Linked DNA regions of Homo sapiens: regions 2 and 3 are each linked to region 1. Evidence: promoter capture Hi-C in human tissues and cell types (Jung and others, 2019). All regions are on one chromosome and are shown on one strand. Each heading gives the region's core, a stretch centred on a gene start or on the middle of the fragment in contact. The rest is flanking DNA. Distances are from core to core; before and after follow the strand shown. Region 1 holds the start of TCL1A (TCL1 family AKT coactivator A). Region 2 overlaps AK7 (adenylate kinase 7). Region 3 holds the start of ATG2B (autophagy related 2B).

The links. The method cuts DNA at HindIII sites, captures the fragments that hold promoters and counts their contacts. A contact is called where the count stands out against the background at its distance.
Region 2: a contact is called between a fragment that was not itself captured here and the fragment with the promoter of TCL1A in region 1, in 1 of the 25 tissues and cell types used here (lymphoblastoid cells).
Region 3: a contact is called between the fragment with the promoter of ATG2B here and the fragment with the promoter of TCL1A in region 1, in 1 of the 25 tissues and cell types used here (mesendoderm cells).

The regions. Positions count from the first base shown.
Region 1 is chr14:95,712,232-95,717,203 of GRCh38, reverse strand. TCL1A (TCL1 family AKT coactivator A) reads left to right here and starts at 3,079. Exons shown (of 4, transcript NM_021966.3): 1 at 3,079-3,257; 2 at 4,808-4,972. The coding sequence starts at 3,138. It overlaps LOC107984703 (a long non-coding RNA gene), which reads right to left and starts at 1,721. Exons shown (of 3, transcript NR_148060.1): 1 at 1,497-1,721. RefSeq lists a silencer at 2,825-3,064 and enhancers at 3,295-3,344, 4,459-4,678, 4,719-4,878, 4,919-4,972. The HindIII fragment of the contact is 10,029 bases long and covers 550-4,972 here.
Region 2 is chr14:96,472,784-96,477,755 of GRCh38, reverse strand. The region is part of intron 14 of AK7 (adenylate kinase 7); the gene reads right to left. Among named protein-coding and RNA genes, the nearest start is that of PAPOLA-DT, 27 kb to the left of the region's middle. RefSeq lists a silencer at 3,518-3,718. The HindIII fragment of the contact is 5,148 bases long and covers 1-4,877 here.
Region 3 is chr14:96,360,608-96,365,579 of GRCh38, reverse strand. ATG2B (autophagy related 2B) reads left to right here and starts at 2,239. Exons shown (of 42, transcript NM_018036.7): 1 at 2,239-2,765. The coding sequence starts at 2,604. GSKIP (GSK3B interacting protein) reads right to left here and starts at 2,054. Exons shown (of 4, transcript NM_016472.5): 1 at 2,012-2,054. RefSeq lists a silencer at 1,782-2,131 and enhancers at 1,333-2,153, 2,074-2,368, 3,610-3,679. The HindIII fragment of the contact is 16,004 bases long and covers 1-4,972 here.

The DNA of each region.
Region 1 (4,972 bases), core at 1,830-4,329:
TTTGACATTTTCGTAGTTATTTAGATTTATAAATCTGTGCACACGTCAAAAACAGTCACTCAGATCTTAGAGAAATTGTACTTAACCCTGCCTACGTGTTAGCATCACCTACTTTTCTCAAGCCTCAATCTCGGAGATTCTGATGTAATTGGTTTGGAGTGGGATCCAGGCGCAGGTGTTTCATTAAAGCTTCCCAGGTGATTCTTAGTGGTTTAGGCTCAGTCATCATAGGGCCCAAAGGCCTAAACACCTAAGTAGCCTCTAAATAGGCTCTTTCCAGCTTGCTATAATCATTGACAATCAAGGACCCCAGGGTTGGTGAGGATGACCTTGGTTACTAGGATTTTCTTTTAAGAGGAAAACACTCTATATATTAGAGGTGATTTTGGCAGAAAATAAGATAGCCTGGAAGTAAATGATACACAAACACCGATATAAGTCCTGTGTCATAGTTGGAGAAATCTGGAGGGCACTGGTGTGTTGAATCAGACACCCCCTATCTCTCCCTCTTGACCCTCCCTCCATATAGCCCAACATTTACCATGCCCGTGAATCACCTGGGGGTCTTGTTCCAATACAGATTCTGACTCAGTAGTCTTGGGGGAGGCTCCAGATTCTGTCATTCTTACGAGCTCCAGGTGATGCTACTGTAGCTGGTCCAGGGACAACACTTTGAGTCAAGGTCATCCTGATGGCCTTGACTACTCCTCAACCCCTTCTTTGGAACCCAAACAAGAAGAATGGCTCCCATGAATTCCACTGGGGTCCTTGATCTACAGCCACTGTACCAAAAACTGTAGGCATTCCTGAACTAACATCATATATTTTGTCCATCTCTTTTCTTAACTATTCCCTCCTCCCACTAGGCAATGTTATAGGAGGATTGGGGCCTACTGAGTTAGAAACAAGCTTAGAGAGCAGGTATTTTGCCCCATTCATTACAAAACTATGGCACTGAGGCCAAGTTGCAAAGGATTTGTCAAGTTCACAGGTGATCGTGGTAAAGGCAAAACTAGATCTAAATCAGGACATGAACGCATCCATTAAGGATTCTGTCAAAATGATTGCTTCCTGTAGCTTTCTGTGTGAAACATCCATTTGCTTATCCTCAGGGAAATCAGACTAACAAAGACTTGGAAAGGAACATAAAATTCTAAAGCTAGGCTTATGGCCTTTATAACCCTTAGATGGGGCAGATAACATGCCACGGAGGCTCAGAGACAGCTCTGAGACTATGCAATAGCTACTGTTTCCCCTCTTGTGGAATGTTCACTTAAAAAAGCTCAAGGGCTCTATAAGTTGCCCAATGAACTCCACAGACATCCTTAATTCATTTTCATTTATTGGAACCCTCTCTCAAATAATTTTCTAAATCTCACGCAATAATGATGTATATTCTTGCTCAATATTAAGAAGCCCTCATGCAAAACTGAAGAAATAAATTGTTCTTACAAAAGAAGGAAAAAGGAATTATATTCTCAGAACATTCTGCTTACCCAGACACACAGATCTGATTCTTGCTCCATTGTTTGTGGCATTCTGGATCCTAGGGCCATTGATGAGGCTGGGTCAGTGGCCACACTGGCTCCTGGGTACCCCTTCCCTGGCCACAAAAGTCCATCCCAGCAGCACTATTTAAACTGGACTTATTTCTCACTTCACAGCTCTGGCCTGGGCTGAGACCTCCCCAACAGAGCTTATTAGCGAGCTTGTCATCTTGCTCTGTGGCTATCTAGGTCTGGAGTCAAGAGCCATTCACAGGAAAATCAGCATGAAACCTTTAAGTTTGCATATTAAATATTAACACCACTAAGGGCTACAGTGGAAAAGAGGTTTGCTGAGCTCAAGGGCCCTCACTCCACCCCCAACTTCCCTTGGCTTTTCTCTTCTATGTTGTGTTCCTGGTAAATCCCATTATGTCTCGACTACCTTAGGCCCTCTCAGCCCCTTCTTGGGAATTAGGCTCTCTGGATAGGCAAAGAGGCAGATACCCAGCTGCCAGGTGAATCAGATGTCCTCATCAGATCTCTTAATTTCCACTTTGGTGATATTTCAAAGGATCACAAATTATGTTCTTAGTGCCTGGTCAGAGAACTGGGAAAGAGCTGGAAGATGAGACACCAAACTCCATCCCATGGTGATGTTTGAACCAGGCTGGAGCTGGTTTCACATGTTTTTCATTGTGCATGACTTTCTTAATTGCCTTAGTGGGAATGCGTTACTGCAAAATAAAGTGAAATTGTTTTCCTTATTGCTTGTAATTTACAGAGGGGTGGTTTTGATCATATAAACCAGGCACTTTTCAAATCCATTGATCTTAGGGTGGAAGGAGGGATTTCTTTTTAAGTATTCATTTCGAACTATGCTTTCACTAGTAAACTCAAAGCCCAAGGGCAAAAACCCATGATTCTCCATTTTGTAATAGCTATTAGATGTCCACAGCACATCAGACCTGTGGAAAACGCATGCTTTGTGTATGGAAGAGGGAGAGGGAGCGTCAGGAGTTGTCCTTTGCCAAAAAACGTACTCTGACACTCAAAGGCACAGGCTGGTGGAGATCCAGGGAACCCGGGAAAGCCCAGGCCTAACTCAGGCCCGCGCGGGTCTCTTCTGATCCCATAAGATGAGGAGTGGGTCCTGGCTCTGGGCATCCTGGTGTCGACTGTGAGTTCCCAGCAGAGGCCCAGAGTCCCGGTCCGGCAGCCGAGGGAAGCGGGGGGGTCTTCCAGAAGAAGAAAGGGCCAAGGTCACCCCGGTGCCTCTCCAGCAGCAGCAGAGGGCGGCGGTCGGTGTCGCTGCTGGCCGGGGCCTCGAGGAAGGCGCGGGCCAGCTGGGGCCGGGTCTGCGTTCCCAGGAGCTGCCACCGTTCCAGGGAGCAAGTCAGGCCGGGACGTAGCGCCTGCGCGGGACCCTCACTTGCCACCAAGACCCCCACAAACCCCGCCCCATCCTGCCTTACGCCCCGCCCCAAGGTCGTTCTCCCGACCCGGGGTCCCGCCCCAAGGCCGTCCTCCCGCCCCGCCGCTTGGTGGCGGCCGCATGCTGCCCGGATATAAAGGGTCGGCCCCACATCCCAGGGACCAGCGAGCGGCCTTGAGAGGCTCTGGCTCTTGCTTCTTAGGCGGCCCGAGGACGCCATGGCCGAGTGCCCGACACTCGGGGAGGCAGTCACCGACCACCCGGACCGCCTGTGGGCCTGGGAGAAGTTCGTGTATTTGGACGAGAAGCAGCACGCCTGGCTGCCCTTAACCATCGAGGTACAGCCAGCTTTGGAGCGGATGGCGAGGCAGCAGGGGCAGCCCCTGGGAGCTTGGGATGCCCTAGGAAGGGCGAGGACTCAAGGAGCACTCACTATGGGGCAGGGAGGATCCCCACAGATGAAGCCACTTTGAGCCGGGCTCTGGAGGATGAATAGGAGTTCTCCAGGCAGGGAAGAAGGGTGGGAAAACCGCAAAGGAATGTCGGTCAAAGGGGTGGACCCAGTGCCTGTGGAGTGTGACTATAATGTTGACTACAGCAGGCATTTTCTGGGCTTCGGGGTCCTAATCCTTAAAAATGGGTATCTCTAAGTGACTCATCCATATGGCCGATTATCGGAATCATCTCAGGTGGGTCCCAGAAATCTGTATTTTTAAAAAGAACCCTCAACAGTTTAGGGTCAACCAGGCATAGCAAACACTGGCCTAGAGTGTGAAGTATTTTCCACTACCTCTGGGCTTTATTTAGAAAACAAATTTAACAAGTGATGTCGTAGTATAAGCGCCGGTATTGAATCAATATTGACTTTTTTAATGTGTGATGCCTTAAGATGGGTCCTTAATCCATGTTAAGTTTTTGTTAAAGAAATAGATAAGTCTTTTACAAGTATTTGGATTTACTCAATGAAAAAGAGTCAAAAAATGTTCAAACTCTCTCCAAACATACACTGAAGAAAGCATAAAAATTAAAAAATATATTAGAACACGTATGTCCAGTAGCAATCAAAAATTATTGAGTGTTGACTGTGTCTCTACAGATGGGAAACTGAGGCACAAAAATGTACATTTGTCCGAGGTAAGATTGCTAGTAGGTAATGGGGTTGGAATTCTAGGCTCTTAACCACCACAAAATCTGCATTTTTATTGGCATTTCAATTTTTTAAATATGTTTTTACTTTAAAAATCAAGTTAAATACTTACTTTTTTAAAATCAAAATTTGAAGAAATAATTTGAAGATTCAGTGGATTTCTTTTTTTAAATCTCTGAGAAATCTCTTCTTCAACGTGACACCAAAACCACGAACCAGACAGTTTTTCATAAAATCATGATACATGCTCCACAAAAAATAACCCACTAGCAAACTGTGGGACAGATTTTGCCTCACATCATTGAAAAGGCCAGTATTCTTTTTCTCTCTTTCTTTCTTTGTTGTTTTTTTTTTTTCCTGTAGATACAGGGTCTCGCTCTGTGACCCAGGCTGGTCTTAAACTCCTGGCCTCAAGCGATCCTCCTGCCTCTGCCTTCCAAAGCACTGGAATTACAAGTGTGAGCCGCTGCAACCCGCCAGAAAAAAGTGTGCCTTTCATGGCCCTGTCTGGGTGGCTAGACACGTGTGTGTGCTGGTGGTCCTGGCCCAGCCAGAGTCCCTGAGAGGAGCATGCATGGCCTAAGGAAGTGAGCTTCAGGGAACAGTGATGACCATCATTTCACACTCGGACCCCTGCCCAGATGGGTGGATGGCTGGCAGGAGGGATTCCGGTTTTCTGCGCCTGGAGAAGCCCTGGCAAGCGGAACCTGAAAGTATGCCCTGTCCTTTTCTTCTCCTCAGATAAAGGATAGGTTACAGTTACGGGTGCTCTTGCGTCGGGAAGACGTCGTCCTGGGGAGGCCTATGACCCCCACCCAGATAGGCCCAAGCCTGCTGCCTATCATGTGGCAGCTCTACCCTGATGGACGATACCGATCCTCAGACTCCAGTTTCTGGCGCTTAGTG
Region 2 (4,972 bases), core at 1,054-3,553, 760 kb before region 1:
GCCATTGGCTATGAAACACTTACGTACAACATGTTATGGTCAGCACTTATCAAATTCAACACACAGATCATGTTAATAATGATGACCATTTTACCCATCTGTGATTTTCTTTTAAACTGTGAAAGCAGCTGTTCCTCCAGCTTCTAGTACAAATTCAATAGATAATTGTTGAGTGAATGAGAGATTTAAGTGTGGATCAGTGAAATAAACTTTCCAAGGTGAGTTGTGATTCTTAGATGTTCTCAACTACAGGAGCAGGGTATACTGGTGCCCAGATCAGTGTCTGGGTGCATCACAAATAGCTTGCTATCTATTAGAGCTCAACAGAACTTGGGAATGATTTGATTTTTGTTCTAAAATTGTATTGGCTTATAACATCATAATGCCATTCTCGTTTACTTGCATTCTAATAAGCTTCCTTGAGTGGGTGAAAAAGGTAAGTGTAATGGGGAAAGCCCACAGGAGGTGTGTCCCCGAGGCATGTGGACATGTGTGAACATCATCTGCTGCAGATGTTAACTGTGAAAACAAAGGCTGAGACAGCGTGTGGAATAAGATCCTATAAATTCATAATAGTTTGATACTACCTCCATTCTGCATACAAGAGGTGTTTTCGCAAGTAAGTTGTTCCTATTTTTTGCTCATCTTTTACCATTTGATTGTCATGATTTTCATGAGTGGCTGCCTTTTGAAAAGGAAGGTAGACATATGAAGCCTCAAATGCTGGTACGGTACTGAAATCAAAAGGATGTCAACAGATTCGCTGAAAATTGAATCCATTTAAGCTCTATGATGTCGGACATCTATATGAAAACTTATTTTCTTTTTAGATTTTTCCCTAACATGATACTCATTTGTTAGAAAATGTATGAACTATGTTAATAATCTATGAATTTCAAAAATATATTCTATCTTTCTTCCAGGCTGATCAGGAGGTGGAAGATTCCAGTTAATCAAATAATGAGTAACATCCTTGGCTTTCCAATTTTCAAAGATTTTTAATATGATAAAATATACTTCTCACTAGATGATTTTTAAAAAAATGTTCATTCTCTTTATGACTCAGAGAACTTCAAGATTCTGCAGTATCTCAAGACAGTTATTCAGAACATCTATTGTCCTTGCACTGGCTAACTGTGGATAGCGAGTAATAGATTTCTGCTTGGTAAGACCGTAGATAACAAGGAGGTCACTGTATTTGGCTATCTGGAATCACATGAAAAATCTATGGTTTTTTTTTTTTTTTTTTTGAGACAAAGTCTCGCTCTTGTCCCCCAGGCTGGAGTGCGGTGGCGCGATCTTGGCTCACTGCAACCTCTGCCTCCCGGGTTCAGGTGATTCTCCTGCCTCAGCCTCCCAAGTAGCTGGGATTATAGGCGTGCACCACCGTGCCTGGCTAATTTTATATTTTTAGTAGAGATGGGGTTTCACCATGTTGGCCAGACTGGTCTTGAACTCCTGACCTCAGGTGATCTGCCCACCTCGGCCTCCCAAATTGCTGGGATTACAGGTGTGAGCCACTGCGCTGGGCTGAAAAAGCTATGTTTTAACAAATTTCCAAATATTAATCAGGTAGGTACAACTTTAAACTTATCTCCTTCAACCAAGAGGTCTTCAAAGAATCAAACTGGACATAGGCTAACAGCAGTGGTAAAATGCAATGGTTGCTCAATGGGAGAGAATACCATCTAGAACTGTATTACCATAGATTGGAATGTGTTTCTTTTATTTTCTGTATCTTATGCTTTGATTTCTTTTTTTTTTTCTTTTTTTTTTTAAGAGACAGGGTCTCACTGTCACCCAGGCTGAAGTGCCGTGGCATGATCAAGGCTCACCACCGCCTTGACCTCCTGGGCTCAAGAGATCCTCCCACTTCAGCCTCCTGAGTAGCTGGGACCACAGGCACATGCCACCACACCCAGCTAATTAAGAATGTTTTTGTGTGTGTGGAGATGGGGGTCTTGCTATATTGCCCATGCTGGTCTCCAACTCCTGGACTCAAGCAATCCTCCTGCCTTAGCCTCCCCAAGTGCTGGAATTGCAGGCGTGAGCCACCACACCTGGTCTGTTTTGACATCTTCAGGGGGGCCTTACAGATCTGGGGAGAGACTGCTGTCCTTCCCAGGCCTAGCCAATACCTAAAGATAGTAACAACTTGCTTGGGAATGCCCCTCCTATGCAAGCCACTCAATCCATTTATCTAATCTCACACAGCAAGCCAGTATTTCCCTTGCCCTAAATCATCCCAGGACCAGGCCCCAGGCAACTAGAGACCACCCGTAAACTCAAACTAGCCAGTCCCGAACGGTTCACTGTGGCCTGTCTTGGCTTTCCCAAAGAAACCCCAACAACGGCATTGATCTAGACCTTTCCCCTTGTTCTTGCTTCTGCCGCCTGACCAAACCTGGCATTCCCCATGTGCCCCCATCTCTAGGGAATCCTAAGTGTAAATTATTTCAATGGCATTGACCTCTCTATGTCACCATTCAGTTCCCTCCCTCAATTAAAATCCTACAAGTACGAATGAAACAATGCCCTACTTTCTTTCAGAGAAATAGAAAATAAAGACAATTTCTGAAAAGTTTGCTAACAACAGATTAACGTTCCAAATAGATTACGTCTTAGACGTGTTTGCACTGTGTCCAACAAAGAATGGAAAGTCCAGTGGCCTACGTTTAAGAGTCCTTGGTCACTTGACCTCTGTGCTTCCATTTCCTTATCTCACAGGCAGGTTTCATTAATTGTTTTGGAGGCAGTGGAGTGAGAAGACCTGAGTTTTAATTTAATCCCCCTACCATTTACTAGTGAGTGGACTTGCATAAATCTCTAGGCTTTAGCTTCTGGATTGGGTAAACATGGGTGTAATTCCTGCCTTGCAGGATTGTGGAAAGGTTCAATGAGTGCCTGGCACATGACAAATTGTGCACGACCAATTGCCAGTTGAACTGAAATGTATCCAGCTGCCTGGATGTTATGGGTGTTATGATTTAGCACAGAGTTTGCAATGAGTGAATATTGCCTAGAAGTGATAAACAAAATGCACTGGACACACCTACCTAGAATTTAATAATCAACAATAAAGTAGATGAACAAACTTTACTTTTTATTTTATTTTTTTAATTAATTTTTTTGAGACCGGTTCTTGCTCTGTTGCCCAGGCTGGAGTGCAGTGGTGTAATCAGGGCACCTGCAGCCTTGACTTCCCACACTCAAGTGATTCTCCTACCTCAGCCTTCCAAGTAGCTGGGACTACAGGTGCATGCCACCACCCCCAGCTAATTTTTTTGATTTTTTTTTTTTTTTTTTTTTAGTAGATATGAGGTCTCACTATGTTGCCCAGGCTGGTCTCTAACTCCTGAGCTCAAGAGATCCTCCCACCTTGACCTTCCAAAGTGCTGGCATTACAGGCACTGTGTCTGGCCAATCAACTTAGCCCACAGGCAAACAATAAATATCCATCCCCAAGGATGACTGCTATCTGGTGGTCTCAGTCCTTCCAGAAGCTTCTCTGCAAACTGTGCTGGACCAAGAGAAGAAAACAGCCACAAGCTGCCTTCCTCGGGGACTTGATACCAGTGAGCAGGCAGGCCCTTTTCAGTTACAGCCTTGTCCTAAGTTGCTGAAAATAGCTTTTCTTCTAGCGATCATATGACCCAAAATGATTCCCTATGAATATCTACCTCAAGCAAACTGACTAAAAACAACAACACTTTTTAACGTTTACAGGAAGGTCACAAGAAATGCCTGCTCAGTACTAAGTAAATCCTGTTGTGTACGATAAATTGCTTATGCTTTGCTTTCAAGAGTACTTTGTGAAATCCCTGTGTAAATATGTGATAGAATAAAACCACTGTGGAGTTAAGAGTGAACTGAAAAGCTTTTGACCTGTGCAATCTCAAGTCAGAAGCTGAATGTCTTTTGGAAGAGATGAGGGCACGGTTAGCACCAAAACCAGGGCAGGGAAGGAGGCTACATGACTCACGAAGTCAAGCCATCAGCAGATTTGCTACCTTTTGCTTTGTTACAGGAGAGAGCAGTGGAAGACAACGTTCCCACAGGGATTTCTATTCATTTCAGCAATTTAATATTCCTCATGTTTATCCGTTGGTGCATTCTCTAGTTTGCAAGTTTATGCTTGAGAATGTCTTTTAATATTTTTCCTAAAAAAAAAAATCCTACTTTATTAAACTCAAAAAGATTCTTTTGGCACAAAAGGGATATTGGGCTACTCTAGGCACACTGCCTATGGTGTAGCCCTGCTCCTTAAGAAGTAGTTAAAAAAAAAAAAAAAGAGCCTGGGCAAGGTGGCTCACACTTGTAATCCCAGCACTTTGGGAGGCCAAGGCGGGTGGGTCGGGAGATCGAGACCATCCTGGCTAACATGGTGAAACCCCGTCTCTACTAAAAATACAAAAAAATTAGCCAGTCATGGTGGTAGGCGCCTGTAGTCCCAGCTGCTGGGGAGACTGAGGCAGGAGAATGGCGTGAACCCGGGAGGCAGAGCTTGCAGTGAGCTGAGATCGCGCCACTGCACTCCAGCCTGGGCAACAGGGCAAGACTCAGTCTCAAAAAAAAAAAAAAAATTAGCTGGGCATGGTGGCAGGCACCTGTAGTCCCAGTTACCGGGGAAAACAAAGAGAAAAGAGAGAGATATCAGACAGCATTCTTCTTTTCTTTTGAAACAGAGTCTCTGTCGCCCAGGCTGGAGTGCAGTGGCAGGATCTCGGCTCACTGCAATCTCTGTCTTCTGGGTTCAAGTGATTCTCCTGCCTTAGCCTCCCGAGTAGCTAGGACTACAGGCACACGCTACGACACCCAGCTAATTTTTGTATTTCTAGTAGAGATGGGGTTTCGCCATGTTGGCCAGGCTGGTCTTGAACTCCTGACCTCAGGTGATCCACCCGCCTTGGCCTCCCAAAGTTCTGAGATTACAGGCGTGAGCCACCACGCCCAGCCCAGAGAACATTCTTTT
Region 3 (4,972 bases), core at 990-3,489, 650 kb before region 1:
GGGATTACAGGAGTGAGCCACTGTGCCCGGCTCCAAAGTTCTTATCAATGGCCTACGAGGCCCTACATGATGTGCTTCCTCTGCGCCCCGCCCGCCCCACCCCCCACCCCCAAACTGCCCAGCTTCTACTTTTTCCTTCACTCACTCTTGATGTTCCCTAAATTCATCAAGCATTCTCCCGTGACAGGGCGTTGCACTTGCTGTTCCCCTTGCATGGAAAACAACTCTTCCAGGTATACATGTGCCTCACTTCCCAGCTTTCTCCAAGTTTCTGCTAAAATGTAATCTTATTAAACAAGAGAATTTCTCTTACCATCTCATATAAAAATGGCAAGTCCCTTCTCTCTTCCCCATCTCCACTCCCTTTACATTGCTTTCGTTTTTCCAACAGCCCTTATCACCACAAAGCATATTATTCACTCATTTATTGTATGTCTCCTCCCTTCAATAAAATGTAAGTTCCAGGAAGGAAGAGATTTATCTGTTCACTGCTGTAATCCCAGTACCTAGAACAGTGCTTGGCACACAGAAGGCAATCAATAAATATTTACTGAATAAATGAACAAACTTCCACTTTATTGAGAGAAAGGGTCTTGCTCTGTGGTTCAGGCTGGAGTGCAGTGGCATGATCATAGCTCGTACGATCCTTTCTGATATTTGAAATTGCAGGCACTCTATGGATAGCGTCAATGCAATTATGCAGCCTCAAAGTCCTGGGCTCAAGCGATCCTTCCGCCTCAGCCTCCACAAGCAGGTACCACCATGCTTCCGTTTTAGAACATAAACTCCTTGAAGGTTCGGCCTGATTCTTGACACTGTTCACATGATCAACTGTGGTGACTTTCATTTAATGGACCTTAACAAATATTTCTGAATGAAGAGCAAGGGAATCTAAGTTACTGAGAATACTTGAGATGAGTCTACAAAGAATGAGGGAAATCAACAATCCAAGCAACTGCATACAAAGTACCCTGGTTCTAAAACGAAAAGGTGGTTGTGGAAAGGGGAACCAGATGTTTCTCCATCTACCAATATTTTGGGCTGTATTTCCAAGGCATTCATGAAAGTTGCCGAGACAGTAAACATTTCACTCCTTAAACTGGTCGTCTTAATTCACTGTGATTAAACAGCTGTATGTTTCAGGACTCTGTTCAGGTTCGTGCCCTACTCATATCATTTAATCTTCCCAACAAATCCATGCACATAAGATTTTAATCCGCTCACACTCGGCAAAGGAGGCAACGTGGGCTCGGGGAGGGCAGTGGCCGCTCAAAGTGGCTGGGCGGCTAATAGGTGTCAGTGCCGGGATTCTAACGAAGGACATCTGGCTTCTGGGCCATAGAACACCCGCACCCAGGCCTTTCGAGGTTGACTTAACTTAACAGCCGGCTCCGCCTCTGCAGGAGTTACCTCCCAAAAGGCAGAAATACGATTGCGCAGACTGCCAGAACAGCCCAAGTTCTTCACCCAGGTTCCGGCGGGGTCAGGAGCCTTTAGCATTTCTCAAGGAATGCAGTTTTGCCCACAGATGCTTCGAAAACCCAAGTTTCCTGATCGTTGCTATGACACACCCAGGATTAAGCGAGCGTATGCGAGAAGCGCTCTGCAAACCGCCAGGCAAACGGCAACGAAGAAGCTGCCTCAGAAACAATACCTGAATGAGGCGGGGGCCGAAGAACTTGCTGACAATGGGCACCGGTCAATGCTCGGGTGCGGGCGGGGATGCTCGAGAAGGGCTCCAGTCCTCCCAGCGGAGACGGCGGAGCCCCAAGTGTGCGTTTCCGGGGCGCCGAGGTCTGAGGGGAGCCGGGAGAGCCAGGCCGGCCAGACCGGCCCCCAGACCCCTCTTAACACGGGCGCGGGGCCCCTGCAGCCTGCCGCCCCTCTCGGCCCAGCCAGCTGCATGGCGTCGCGTCCCCATCCGGAAGGCCTGACGGCCCGCCGGCGCCCCGAGCCCCTAGCCCTTCTCGGGGGCCGCCCCTCGCCCGCAGCCACCCCGGCTGCCGCTCACCTGCGCGCCCGGCGTCCTCTTCTTCCTTCCTCCGGAGGCGACTGGAGCCGACCGGCGGTGCCGCCCCCTCCCTCCCCGCCTTCTTCCGCCCCGCCCCCTCGGAGCCGGAACTGCTCCAGCCCCCGCCCTTCTGCCCGCCTTCCGCGGCCCCAGTGTGGCGTCACTTCCGCCAGCGCCCGGCGGCGCGCCGGGAGTCTGGGTCTCGTGAACGCGCCAGGAGCGTCCCTACAGCCGGGAACGCGCCTCGCGGATGACAACAAATTCGTCGCGCGGCGGCAGTGGCGGTGGCTGCCTCAGCCCCTGCCGCCTCCTCTCGCGCTCTCTTGCACTCTCTCCGAGCCGGTTGGGACCCTCCTCGGAAGTCCCCTGGCCTGGGGCCAGGAGGACCCCTCTGCGTCTTGCCTCCGCCAGGCCCAGCGCGAGCGGTGCGGCGCCGGCGATGGGGTCTCCCTGAGGGACTCCCGGCACCAAATAGGGATGGAGGGGCCGCCCCAGGCTTAGGCCCCGCCGCGGCCTGGAGCCGGAGTCGCTACCCCGAGGCCGGAGCCGTCGCAACCCGCAGCCGCAGTCAGCCCAGCTGCCAGCAGTCACTATGCCTTGGCCGTTTTCGGAGTCCATCAAGAAGAGGGCCTGCCGGTACCTCCTGCAGAGGTACCTGGGCCACTTTCTGCAGGAGAAGCTGAGCCTGGAGCAGCTCAGCCTGGACCTGTACCAAGGCACCGGGTCCCTCGCCCAGGTCCCCTTGGACAAATGGGTAAGAGCTGCCGGCGGCGAGCCGGGCGGGGCTCGCTCCCCTCTTTAGGGCGCTTTGAACCAGTGCCATCCAAGATTGGTGACAGTCAGTCCCTCCTTGGGAATTGTTTGGACCCGAGTGTGACACGGCTCAGAGAAATGTGTTAGAGTGTTGTTTAATCTGTTTCTAACAAGTTTGCTCTCCTAAATCACGTGTTCCGGAAACTTTAACAGATGTAATGGAATCTACACTGTGGGAATAATTGAGTCAGTGCTTCGGGGGTCTGTGAAGCAGGCTCAATAGGTCCGTGGGAGGAGGTGACCAGAACTGTCCCTCGGGATGTGAGGGGCCGCAGGGTTTTGTGGCAAACAAACCCTGCCTTGTGGGATGACATTCTGGAAGGATTAAGGATGAAGAGGACCTTTGGATGTCAGAATCCCTAGTTATTTGTTTTGGGTTGGCTGCTTGCGCACCATGTTTGCCTTGTTTGTCATCGTGCAGCGTTTGCCATCTGGAAGAAAGTTAGGTGAAGGCCTCTTGTGCCGGTTTGCCTGCTTTTGCTTGATTATATGTTTACAAGATAGGTTTGTGTATCCAGCCTGTGAATGGTCGTCTGGCCCTAGTAGTGCTGTTGAGTTATGCCTCTTTGCTCCACGTGACAGATCGTAAAAGCAGGTGTTGCAAAAGCGCTGAAGTTGCAATTTTCAGACATTTTAAAACCTGCCTTCTACTTGTCATCTAGAGGCTGTGAATTCACTCATTGCTATACAGGTGCTTCATCTGAATTTCGACTCACCACATGCAGTCGTACCTGCATTTGTGTGTTCAATGCATAGCATTTTACTTAAAGTATATTCACTTTTGGGTTTGACAGGAATAGAGTGACTTCTACCCTTTGCCCAACCCTTACTTCCTTAGCCACAGAAAATCTTAAATTATGGAAATACCTTATTATGACCCTTAAGCGAATTTGTGCTAGAGACTATAAATCAGTATATAATTTTATCAGTATGTACCTGACATAAACTAGGGAGAGGACACAAGATAGTGGAAAGAGCCCTGGTTTGAGAGCAGTAAGACCCAGTCGCTCACCAGGAGGTGAGAGTCCTACCCCTGGAGAGACTCTCCAGACCGCCACAATTAGCCGAGTGATAATGGACTTAGCAATTCACCTGAGTTCAGTAAACACTAATGGAGCACACACTTCATCTCTGTGTCGTCCGTCTTATGGTATTGTATTCCTGTAATTCTTCCAAAAGATAGGGATTCTGAAGGATATTTTTGAATTCAACAACCCATGATTCTATACTTTTGATACAGTTATGAATAGGTTATCTTGAAAAAAGAGGGTTCAGGATTTATTAATGCCTTTTGTGGGTGGAAGGGCTTTGTATGCATTATCCTTTAATGACTTTAACCCTATAAGGTGGGCATTAATATTTCCATTTTACAGATGGAGTTAAGCAGTTTGCCCCATCACACATCTAGCAAGTATTACATCACATGGCCTAAGATCAAAAGAAAGGCAGTTAATGTTTATTGAGTATGTATTTATGTCAGGCATTGTACTAGGCACTTTCATTTGTGAGGTTTTATTTAGTCCTTATGGGAAATCAGAGGTAGTGATATTTGAATTTTATAGTTTGAGTTCAGAATCATTGGCAAAATGATTTATTACTAAACTTAATCTGAGGATGATGTTTTGTTCTTGATGGGCGGGTTTTGTAAACTAAAATGATAATGTCAAAGCATCCAGTAAACATTTGCTGTTGCTGATTTATTTTCATGTGCTGTGTTGATGGTTAGGATAAATCTTAGTGTGACCCTTAGATACAGCTGTTCAGAGTTCTGATTCCAAATTCAGTTTATTTTCACACTTGATTTTTTTTTTTTTTTTTTTTTGGTAGAGGATTCATTCTCTTGCTTTGTTGCCAAAGCTGGTCTTGAACTCCTGGTTTCAAGTGGTCCTCCCACTTCTGCCTCCCAAGTGCTCAGATTACAGGCATGAGCCATAGGACCCAGCCAGATACTTGATTTTAATGACTTACATGACTGAAAAAAAGGTACCTTCGGAGATTCACAGATCCTAATGGAAAAACTGATGCTAATTGAAGAATTGCTGTACTCCTACTGTTTCAATTCTAAATGATCAATTATGCAAAGAATTTTGTTGAACTCAGCAATGACATTCCTTTCATTCCTGATCTCAATTAGTTTTTCTATTATGG